Linked DNA regions of Homo sapiens: regions 2 and 3 are each linked to region 1. The links are contacts of gene promoters, found by promoter capture Hi-C in human tissues and cell types (Jung and others, 2019). All regions are on one chromosome and are shown on one strand. The core of a region is centred on a gene start or on the middle of the fragment in contact, and the rest is flanking DNA. Distances in the headings are between cores, read along the strand shown.

Evidence for each region. Contacts are between HindIII fragments. The study calls those that stand out against the background at their distance.
Region 2: a fragment that was not itself captured here is called in contact with the fragment with the promoter of PIRT in region 1 in 1 of the 25 tissues and cell types used here (lymphoblastoid cells).
Region 3: a contact is called between a fragment that was not itself captured here and the fragment with the promoter of PIRT in region 1, in 1 of the 25 tissues and cell types used here (spleen).

Annotation. Positions count from the first base shown.
Region 1 is chr17:10,836,025-10,839,779 of GRCh38, reverse strand. PIRT (phosphoinositide interacting regulator of transient receptor potential channels) reads left to right here and starts at 1,693. Exons shown (of 2, transcript NM_001101387.2): 1 at 1,693-1,835. RefSeq lists a silencer at 460-684 and an enhancer at 2,381-2,882. The HindIII fragment of the contact is 18,169 bases long and covers 1-3,755 here.
Region 2 is chr17:10,626,894-10,630,584 of GRCh38, reverse strand. It overlaps MYH3 (myosin heavy chain 3), which reads left to right. Exons shown (of 41, transcript NM_002470.4): 37 at 127-297; 38 at 389-493; 39 at 648-743; 40 at 851-988; 41 at 1,906-2,053. The coding sequence ends at 1,932. Among named protein-coding and RNA genes, the nearest start is that of MYH3, 29 kb to the left of the region's middle. The HindIII fragment of the contact is 9,087 bases long and covers 1-3,691 here.
Region 3 is chr17:10,606,591-10,610,091 of GRCh38, reverse strand. It overlaps MYHAS (myosin heavy chain gene cluster antisense RNA), which reads right to left. Exons shown (of 11, transcript NR_125367.1): 7 at 1,869-1,947; 8 at 1,477-1,738. Among named protein-coding and RNA genes, the nearest start is that of MYH3, 49 kb to the left of the region's middle. The HindIII fragment of the contact is 5,127 bases long and covers 1-3,501 here.

The sequences.
Region 1 (3,755 bases), core at 444-2,943:
TGTGATGTAGTAATGATCCCACTCAATGAATACATGAGGAAATTAAGGCCCAGAGAAGTAATTCGTCCAAGGCCAAATACAGAGATAGCAATATACCTCACATGGCTACCTCATGGAGTTGTATGGGAAATAAGTGAATTGCTATATATATAAAGTGCTTAGAAGAGTGCCTGACATGGAGGGAGTGATGAATAAGGGTTTAACTTAGGATGGTATTACTCTGCCACACTGCCGTGCCCTGCAGAGGGTGGGGGAATAGCCCGAACTTTGTAAAAATAAATAAATAAATCATTTGATTATTTGCATTGCAAAATAATTCACTCTAGGGTTCCTCTGCGAGCCAGGCCACTTGGTTTTACAAACTGATTTGAGTATAAAGTCAGAGGCACCTAAGGCAAAGCAACTCACATCCTCAAAAACCTTCAAAGTCAAGTTCCCCTGGACACTCAAGGCAGGCCTCTCCCTGCTCATTGCCCTGAGCAGAGACGCTCATCTTCACAGAGGACAGAGGGCGTACTCAGCCTGATCCCTCACAGCAGCTCAGGGGACAGGCTCATCCTCCTAGCTCTCTGCTTCTCTAGGCATGGATCACACAGCAACCTCTACAGAGCCTTCTAGGCTCAGAATCTCCTGCTCATTGCACAGATGAGGAACTCAAGATGCCAAATATGGGAGAGTCTCATACCTGCCTTGACAGCAGCTTCCTTGGATGGCTCCTAGGAAAGCCCTCCCGGCAGACCACAGAGGAAGCCCCTCAGGGTACTGTTCCCAGTAGCAAGGATGCCCACCCACCAGTTATCCTGAGGAACAACAGCTGCCCACGTTCTCAGGTTAGTGTGGGCCAGGGCAGGAGCCAGCATGCCTTCCAGAATCATAGGCAATTTTGCTGACCTCAGTGTATCCGTCAGCATCTTGAGAACTGGCCACTCAACAGCTCACACCCAGCTTCCCGAAGCACAGTCTGGTAAAGGTTTATAGAGGAGAAAACCTTTTCATCCTCCTTGCACTGATTTGCATCATTCTCTTCTCATCATTGTGGCAGCAGGCATCCCATAAAAAGCAACAGGGCACCATGAGGAATGATTGGAAGAGCGATGGGGAACAAGCTCTTTTGCCTCTATTTGAGATGTCAGGCCTGGGATGGAGGTAAGTCGTGTTGTGGGCTCCTGGCAGTTTGTAACATAGGGTGCCCACCCGTGCATTGGAAAGTTCCAAGAAGTGTCCCTGCCATCTTGCAACCAAGGATGTTTTCTAAGTCTGCATGTGCCCCCTCCAACATCCAGAACACAGAGAGTTCCCAGATCAAATTATTAAGGCCTGCACTGAACAGAGCCAGTGTAGCCTGAGTCAGCCGGAGGGTCTGATCCACTCTTTGGCAACTCATCCCCACCACCATGGCCACTACACACCTCCACCAACCCAGAAACTCCAGGTCCTCTGATTTCTGAGCCTGGGTCAGGAGAAGCTGCCCTGCCCAGGCACCAACGGAACGCACGCCTCCATGAAACTTGAAGACAGACTGCAGAGAAGCATCATGAATTTTTCACAAGATTCATCTAATTGTGGCTGAGCAGAGCTGAGAAAGCCACAGTCCGAGGACCCATGCCAGCAGCTCACAAAGAGTTAACCCATTAGGCCATTGCCTGGTGAGCTCATCCATCCCTGCTGGAGCCTGCTCAGTTGCTGGGATTCACAACACACTGACTTCTGGACGTGGTCAGGGTGGCTTTCTCTGGCTGGCATGGACTTGAGCAGAAACTCATTGCCGGCTTCCTCCTTGCACGAGCACCAAGTGATTCCCAGGTCCCCCATCCTCCCCTGGGACATCGAGGACAGTAAGTAAGGAGGGAATGTTTCCTTCTGCCCTTCCTTCCATCTCGCTGAAGGAAGGAGCAGATTTTAACTTTGCTTTGGAGCGTGTTGTCTTTAAACTGGGGTTGGAAGGCAAGCATGAACAACAAGCGGAGAAAAGGGGGCTATGCCCTGGGAGGGGGTGAAGTCAGCCTGGAGGCACTGCCTGCTGAGGGTCTTGGCAGACAGTGGTGGCCAGAGGAAGGGGGGCCGCCCCTTGCTGTGTACTGGGAAGAAGGGAATTTGTGGGCAGAGAGCTGCTTCAGTCCTGCGTCTATAGCATCCAGCCTTCACTCTTAGCAGCCATTGTGGGAAGGGCTGGGCAGGGACTCTCCTCCCAAATCTAAGTGGAAGAAGCAAAAAAGCCAGACAGGAAAGTGCAAGGCCACCCCCAGACCCCAGAGTACATGGGTGGAATCTCGGACCCCAGCCGTCCTCCTGAGCACCCTGTGTCAGACCTCTGCAGCTGCCAATGTCTTCCTCCTGCAGCTGTGGCAGGTGTCTGGGGCAGGTGCCAGAAAAACAAGGTGGAGTGCGTTGGCTGCCTCGGGAGTTTTATCTCAGACAGGGGGAACAAGGCAGGCACATGCAAACACGGACAAAGACGTGGCTCAGTCAGGCAACTGTGTGCCGTGAGAACCCTGCATCCGGGTAAAGCCAGCCGTGGTCACACACGCAATCGCCCGAGCTATTTTTCTACCCTGTCACTGGCCAGGGTCTGGGCACCAGCCGGGTGGCCCAACAAGGGAGGTGGGTGGCACCCTCTAGGTTGACTGTGACCTTTGGGAAACTTCCCTTCCTAGAAGCGCTATGAGCAGGTGACAGATGGGTGGCCATGGCCATGGTGACAGCAGCGGCTTACTCAGAAACCCTCTAGCTTCTATTAGCCCAGACACTTGGCCCCCACTCACCTTATCAGAGGGGTGGACAGTCACCAACTGAATGTCCTGGTGAGGGGAAGACAGCACCGCCAGAGAAGATAAGGGACCGTGGGGATGACCACTGGCAAGCTGGAGCTGGGTGGGGCCTTAATGGGGACTCCGTGAGGGAAACAGGAGGACCCTCCACTTCTTACCACTCTGGGTCTTCCACAGGAATAATACATGGTGTTATTCCCACCACTTCCATCCTGCCTTCCCCGCTTCTCCCCCAGACTCCCCTCGCTGGGCCCAGCCTCCCAGCAGTGAGGTAATGTGTGCCTCTCTCCTCTGCTTTCAGCTCTTGCAACTTCCAGAACAGCCCAGGTGCTATCAGAGCTCTCTAGATGGTGGGGCCTGAGGGGCAGAAGCTCAGGAAGGGCCAGATAACTCCAGGCCCAAGCACAGCAGCACAGCGGGATCTCTTACAATATTAGGGGTGCCAGATGTATTGCGAGATGCCCAGTTCAATTTGAATTTGTCAAACAACAAATACATTTTTTGCATGCGTTGGTCCCATGCAATACTGGAACATTCTTACATGAAAAAAACTATCCGTTGTTGATCTGAGGCTGAACTGTAACTGGACACCTTGTAGTTTTATTCTCTAAATCTGACAACCCTCTTAATACCAACTGTATTTCAGCACGTTCGAAGGAGGACAGCACCAGGAAAAGGCTGGGGAGTGAGTTCAGAGGTGGAGATGTACAGGTGTAGGGTGGTAGAATGCAAGGAAGGCGGTGAAGAAAACAAGAAGAAAAAAAGGCAGGGCCCTCTCCTTGAGAAAGCATAAATAAAAGAGCAGGATTGGCCGGGTGCAGTAGCTCACGCCTGTAATCCTAGCACTTTGGGAAGCTGAGGGAGGTGGATCACCTGAGGTCAGGAGTTCGAGGCCAGCCTGGCCAACATGGCAAAATCCCGTCTCTACTAAAAATTCAAAAATTAGGCAGGCGTGGTGGCATGCACCTGTAATCCCAGCTACTCAGG
Region 2 (3,691 bases), core at 103-2,602, 210 kb after region 1:
AGCCACCGCGCCTGGCCTGTCCTTTTTCTTTAGCATGGTCTCTGGTCCTCCGAGGTCCCCAGGTTTTGACAGTTCCAAGGCACTGGAGCTTCCTCTGCATCCTAGCAAGTCCCATGTGCTTTTCAGGCTGCCATGATGGCGGAGGAGCTGAAGAAGGAGCAGGACACCAGCGCCCACCTTGAGCGGATGAAGAAGAACCTGGAACAGACGGTGAAGGACCTGCAGCATCGTCTAGATGAGGCCGAGCAGCTGGCGCTGAAGGGCGGGAAGAAGCAGATCCAGAAACTGGAGACCAGGGTGTGTGCAGGAGGAACCCCGCCTGCGCTGAGCTTTCCAGCCTCCCAATCACGCTGCAGCCCCAGACTAATTTCCCCACCCTCTCCCCCAGATCCGAGAGCTGGAGTTTGAACTTGAGGGAGAGCAGAAGAAGAACACAGAGTCTGTTAAGGGCCTGAGGAAGTATGAGCGGAGGGTCAAGGAGCTGACGTACCAGGTAAGTGGAACGCAAACGCCATGATCGTGTCCTCTGTGACGTGCAGATTCTCCATCAAACCACAGGAAGAAACACTTTGGCCCAGAAAGCTGCCCATGCCGTGTGCAAATCTGCCCCCTCCTCTCCAGTGACATTCCCACTTTCTCATTCTTAGAGTGAAGAGGACAGGAAGAATGTGCTGAGATTGCAGGATCTGGTGGATAAACTGCAAGTGAAAGTCAAGTCCTACAAGAGGCAGGCGGAGGAGGCTGTAAGTGAGATAGGTGCTGACTGCGGCAGGCAGACCGTGCTGTTTCCCGTGGTGAGTTCTGAGAGAGGCGCGTGCTGATATAACCTGCCTGGGCTCTTTGGTTTTAGGATGAACAAGCCAATGCTCATCTCACCAAATTCCGAAAGGCTCAGCATGAGCTGGAGGAGGCCGAGGAACGTGCGGATATCGCAGAATCTCAAGTCAACAAGCTCCGCGCTAAGACTCGAGACTTCACCTCCAGCAGGGTGAGTCGCTGAGCTGGGAGGAGCCCCCCCCCAGGGACTGTAGAAACTTCTTAGCTGGAAGGAACCTCAGAGAACCCTTTACTTTAGAGCTGGGGAGTCTCAGGCTCAGGAAGAGAAAGTGCTTAAAGTCACTTAGCTGACTGGACCCTCGCTAGAATCCTGGTCTGTGAGTCACAATAAAAACCGCCATCCTGCACATGTACACCATGGAATACTATGCAGCCATAAAAAAGAATGATATCATGTCCTTTGCAGGGACATGGATGAAGCTGGAAGCCATCATTCTCAGCAAACTAACACAGAAACAGAAAACCAAACACCACATGTTCTCACTCATTAGTGGGAGTTGAACAGTGAGAACACGTGGACACAGGGAGGGGAACATCACACACCGGGGCCTTTCCGGGGGTGGGGGCGGCAAGGGGAGGGAGAGCATTAGGACAAACAGCTAATGCACGTGGGGCCTAAAACCTAGATGACAGGTTGATAGGTGCAGCAAACCACCATGGCACATGTATACCTATGTAACAAACCTGCACGTTCTGCACATGTATCCCAACAAAACAAAACAAACCGCCATCCTGAAAAGGAGCGAGCGGGTCCCACTGAGCTCTTTCATGCGCCCCCTGCTGGTAACAAAAGGCTGCTGCAGGAGCCCCCTCCAGAGCCCGCTGAACACACAGCATCCGACAGTAGGTCGCTGGGTCTCCAGCGTTTGGGGCTTGCTCTTTCGGAGGGCCAGTTTCTCAGGCTATGGGGTGACTTCATGTGTGCAATCGTGCGTTTTCCCAAGGTCCAAAAAATATCCTGTGTCCCACTGAAGTAGGCAAGCAACTCTGATGCCAGCCGGCAGAAGTGGTGGGTGGGAATGTGTCTCTGCCACCCGACTTGACTCCAGGTGCCTACTTTCTTCCTAGATGGTGGTCCACGAGAGTGAAGAGTGAGCCAGCCCTTCTGGAGCAGGACAGAAGATATGCAAAATGTATATTTTCTTGATTCCTGACCATTGATACTTAATGTCCATGTGACTCTTTTTCACATGCAATAAACTTTGCTTTGTTTCAATCTGGGGCCGCTTTGCTGTATTTGTTTTCCTCTTCCCCATGCAGAAATGGTTCCTAGTTTGATGGTTTGTATGCTCGGAGGTGAAAGCTTTGTAAGCAGATGGCTCGGTAAATTCAATTGGTGTGTGCATGTGCGGAGGGAGAGATGGCTTTTGGCTTAAATCAAAAAGGAAAAAAAAAAACTTCCGGGTTAACCTTTGCTTTGGTGGGGAATGGGAGGGAGAGCTTTTCAAAAGAGTCATCTCTTAATATGACATGAAGGAAACACAAAGGTAGGCTCATGAAAAGCCCTTGTCTTGAGTTGAATAAGGTTATAAAGCAAAGGCCCACATTCTCCTTCTTTACATTCTAGTGGGGAAATACATCTGAAATCTAGTAAATATTTGTTGGGCAGCTGTTCATGTAAGCACTGTGCTATCAAAAATACATAAATGAATAAAAAAGAGGCTGGCCCCTTCAAGCGCTCAGTCTAAATCTACTACTGTTATCTTAGATCAGTGTGCACTATTTCAAAGCTGCACAACAGAAAATCCCACCCCTGACCCAAGATAACCTTGTCTTTACCTTAAGAGGGAAGGAAGGCAGGAAGTCAAATAACTATCTGGTTGACTTGCTACTAGAAAGAGCATCTTCTAGCCTGGGATCCTTTGTTTATTGTCATCAGTAAATTTATTAGCAATAGCTGCCAAGTTCCCTTCTTTGTCTGATTCCAGAAGATTAGGGGACCTAGTTTGACTCAGGTGAGAATGAAAGGCCAAGGGGTGTTCTCTCCAGATGTGGGGGAACTCAACAAATCATTTAGCTTTTTCAATAAATAAATTGCAAAGAAAAAATATAAAACAAATACAAGGGAGACCTGTAGATTAAAAGATACTTAGTGGACCTATCCGCCAATTGCACTGTGTGGACCTTGTTAGGATACTGCTTTGTACAAACACGCTGTTAAAAAATAGACACACACACACACACACACACACACACACACGGTCCAATTGGTAAATTTGACTATTGACTGGATATTGATGGTGACATGAGATTATTGTTCATTTCACGGTATAATGTGATTTTGTGATTATGCTTTCTAAGATAGTCCTTATCTTTTAAAAATACATGGTAAAGGCTGGACGCAGTGACTCACGCCTGTAATCCCGGCACTTTGGGAGGCCGAGGCGGGCAGATCACGAGGTCAAGAGATCAAGACCATCCTGGCCAACATGGTGAAACCCCGTCTCTACTAAAAATACAAAAATTAGCTGGGTGTGGTGGTGCCCTCCTGTAGTTCCAGCTACTCGGGAGGCTGAGGCAGGAGAATCGCTTGAACCCAGGAGGCGGAGGTTGCAGTGAGCCAAGATCACACCACTGCACTCCGGCCTGGAGACAGAGCAAGACTCTGTCTCAAAAAGAAAAAAAAAAGGTGGTAAAATATGTACATACCAGAAAGGAAGAGTAAGCGAGAGATCGTTGAAGTAAACTTATTTTACAGAACTTATGACTTAAAGAATTAATAAAAGAGGCCCCTGATGCATTTTATGCAGAACTGGAGTGCCTCTGCACTTGAAAATACCTGGGGCCGTGGAACCCCCTGTGTCCACTTATTGGCAAAGTGTGACATTTCCCACAAAGGAGAAGGTGCGGAGTT
Region 3 (3,501 bases), core at 796-3,295, 230 kb after region 1:
CTTTCAGACCAGTGTTGACCCAATCCTGGAGTGTGAGAAACATCACGCTTGTTATGGCTGAGCCTGAAAGGGACAATGAGCCTCCTCCACTGCTACTGAATCAGAACTTACTTTGCATTTACAGTCTATCCATGGGATCAGAAAATCAGTCAACCTTAGATTTGAAAGGAACCTCAGACATCACCTTACTTAGTGACTCTCAATGCTACCTACACATGACAATCACTGGGAGAGCTTTTAAAAAATACTGATGCTGGCCGGGCGCGGTGGCTCACGCCTGTAATCCCAGCGCTTTGGGAGGCTGAGGAGGGTGGATCACCTGAGGTCGGGAGTTCAAGACCAGCCTGACGAACATGGAGAAACCCCGTCTCTGCTAAAAATACAAAATTAGCTGGGCATAGTGGCGCAAGCTTGTAATCCCAGCTACTCGAGAGGCTGAGACAGGAGAATCGCTTGAACCCGGGAGGTGGAGGTTGCGGTGAGCCAAGACCATACCATTGCACTTCAGCCTGGGCAACAAGAGCAAAACTCTGTCTCAAAAAAAAAAAAAAAAATACTGATGCCTGGCCTAACCCTGTCCCTACCCTAAGTTGTTGATGAAATTGATTTGAAGAGGGCCCCCAGATGCCAGCATTTTTCATTATTTGTCCGGGTGATTCAAAGGTGAAGGCAGGGCTGAGAATCCCTGATCTAGTCCAATGCCTGCATTTTCCAGGGGCTAAACTGAGACCCAAGGAACTGAAAGAATGTGCCCAGAAAACATTCACTCACATAAATTCAGGGACTTATCTAGGACCCTAAGTCAGAGTGTGCTTTGCTTCAATCAGTGTCTCCCAGATCTAGTCATTTGAATACAGTCTTCCCAATACTGTCACAGCCACATGCATCTCTATGTACTTTTTAACTTATTTATTTATTTACTTGTTTTGAGACAGAGTCTCACTCTGTCACCTAGGCTAGAGTACAGTGGCGTGATCTCGGCTCACTGCAACCTCCGCCTCTGGGGTTCAAGTGATTCTCCTGCCTCAGCCTCCTGAGTAGCTGGTATTACAGGCGTGCGCCACCACGCCCAGCTAATTTTTGTATTTTTAGTGAAGATGGGGTTTCACCATGTTGGCCAGGCTGTTCTTGAATTCCTGACCTCAAGTGATCTACCCACCTTGGCCTCCCAAAGTGCTGGGATTACAAGTGTGAGCCACCACACCCGGCTTCTATGTACTTTTTTTAAAAAATGATTTTTAAAATGTAATGCTGTTTAGCCTTGTCTTCAGCAATAAAATCTGTAAAATACACCTTAAAATTAAGAACAATTAAGATGCGATGGACTTCGCAGTCGACCACCTTAGCTCCTGCTGTACATCACGCCTTGTGCATGTATCACACTTTAAAACACAGAAGACTGAGGTACTGGGAGTGCTGGGAAGACTTGGGGAAATTTAGGGCAGGTGTTGTAGACCTTTGTCCTGAGTTACTCACATGTAGGGCTGAAGAAGCTGCAGGTGACCACATGTACCAGGCAGCAGCTGAACCTCATGGAGTCTGTCAGTCCTCGGCAGCACTCAAATCCTCAAACGGGGATTAATGATGGAATTGGAGCGAGGAAGGAGGGGGTGACAACCGGAGGATTCATTTTACCTCTTCTGGAAAGGCTACAGGTCACCCTGTACCAACAGACTATTAAAATGAAGCTGCCTATCCATCACCTGGAATCTGCTGGTCCAAACACGCTGAAATTGATCTAGCAGGAGGGGAAAAATACCATTACAGAAGGCTCATAAAGTCACAGCACAGTAATGCAGCTTACACTAGAGGCCATCTTTCAGCCTGGGTTTAAAGATTCAGAATTTTAAATTTATTATTCTACTTACCAGGACTTATTTTCTTTTCTGAATAAGCTCATTAATCTTGATAGGTTGTTTAATATATTCTAAAGTGATACTCAATATTCTGAGAGAAAGGAGAGAAAAAAACAACGTATTCACCTGTCTCAGTTGAGCTTCAAGATAAGTTAGTTCTTTGAGTTTGAACAAATTCTCCATAATCAGGGCTTTAATTAAGAGGTTTCCCAGTTTTTAAATTTGGGAGAAAAGCGATGAAAGGAATTGGAGAATTTGTACTCTGGTAAAATGAGATGACCTGGAATCCTTATCTAAACCAACAAATCTAAAGAAAACCTAAGACCTTGTTCAATTCTCTTTTTCTCTCTCACTTTTATATTTAAAAAGACTGTTCAACCAACTAATTTCCTAGCAATTCCATTCCTAGGAAAGTCCCTTGGATGGATTCTGATTCCAGTGCACAAGAAGACATAAAGAAGGATGTTCAATGCTTAATTTTTTATAATAGAGAAAAATTAGAAGTACGTTGAATGTCCATCAACTGGATAAACAGGATAGATAAATTGTGGTAGAGTCATATATGAAATGCCATACAGCCATGAAAATGAATGAATAAGAGTTATATATGTCTCAAAAATTGATGAAAAGCAGCAAAAAATATATATATAAATATATATATTATATATATAAATATAAATTTTTTATATATAAATATATATATTATATATAAATATAAATGTTTATATATAAATATATAAAATATATTTTTATATATAAAAATATATTTAAAAATATAAAAATATATATAAAAATATAAAAAAATAAATATATATTTATATATATTTTTAATATATATAAAAATATATATATGTATATATGTATAGTGCCATACTATTTAGGTATAGTTTTAAAATATAAAACAATAGTGCCTAGTGCTTATGGACATAAACACATATAATAAAAGTGTAAAGCACTGGGCAGGAAGATACACACCAACTTTAGGGAGACAGTTGCTCCTGGATGAAGGCAGGAGATAAGTACAGTATTTTATTATTGCAATTATTTTAAAGATCTGAAGCAAATATGAAAAATGACATTTGTTAAATCTAGATGGTGGGTCATGGAGACTTATTAAATTATGTTTTCAAACTTTTCTGTCAGTTTGAAACTTCATAGTTGAAAAATAAAGTTATTTAAGCCATTGAAGCCACTGAGTCAAAAATATATACATGAATTCCTTGGGTAGAAATATCTGATTATGACAGAAAAGCCTGCCTTCTCCTATTGAGAGACAAATGCAAAACTCAATGTTTCTTAGGGATGCAGACACAAAGAAAATTGGCAGAAGGAATTTGCTAAGTTGTTAATAAAATAAAGCCCAAGGGCCAAACACGATGGCTCATGCCTGTAATCCCAGCACTTTGGGATGCCAAGCTGGGAGGATCGCTTGAGCCCAGGAGTTCGAGGCTGCAGTGAGCTATGATCGCACCATTGCACTCCAGCCTGGGTGACAGAATGAGACCTTGTCTTTTTTTTTTTCTTTTTTTTTTTAAGTTCAACTAAAAATTTTATATAATTTAAAAAATAGTGAGATAAAAGTATTCCACTTCATGAAACAGCCTTGCTTTTTAAAAACACATCGCAAAATAATTCTTTTAACTTT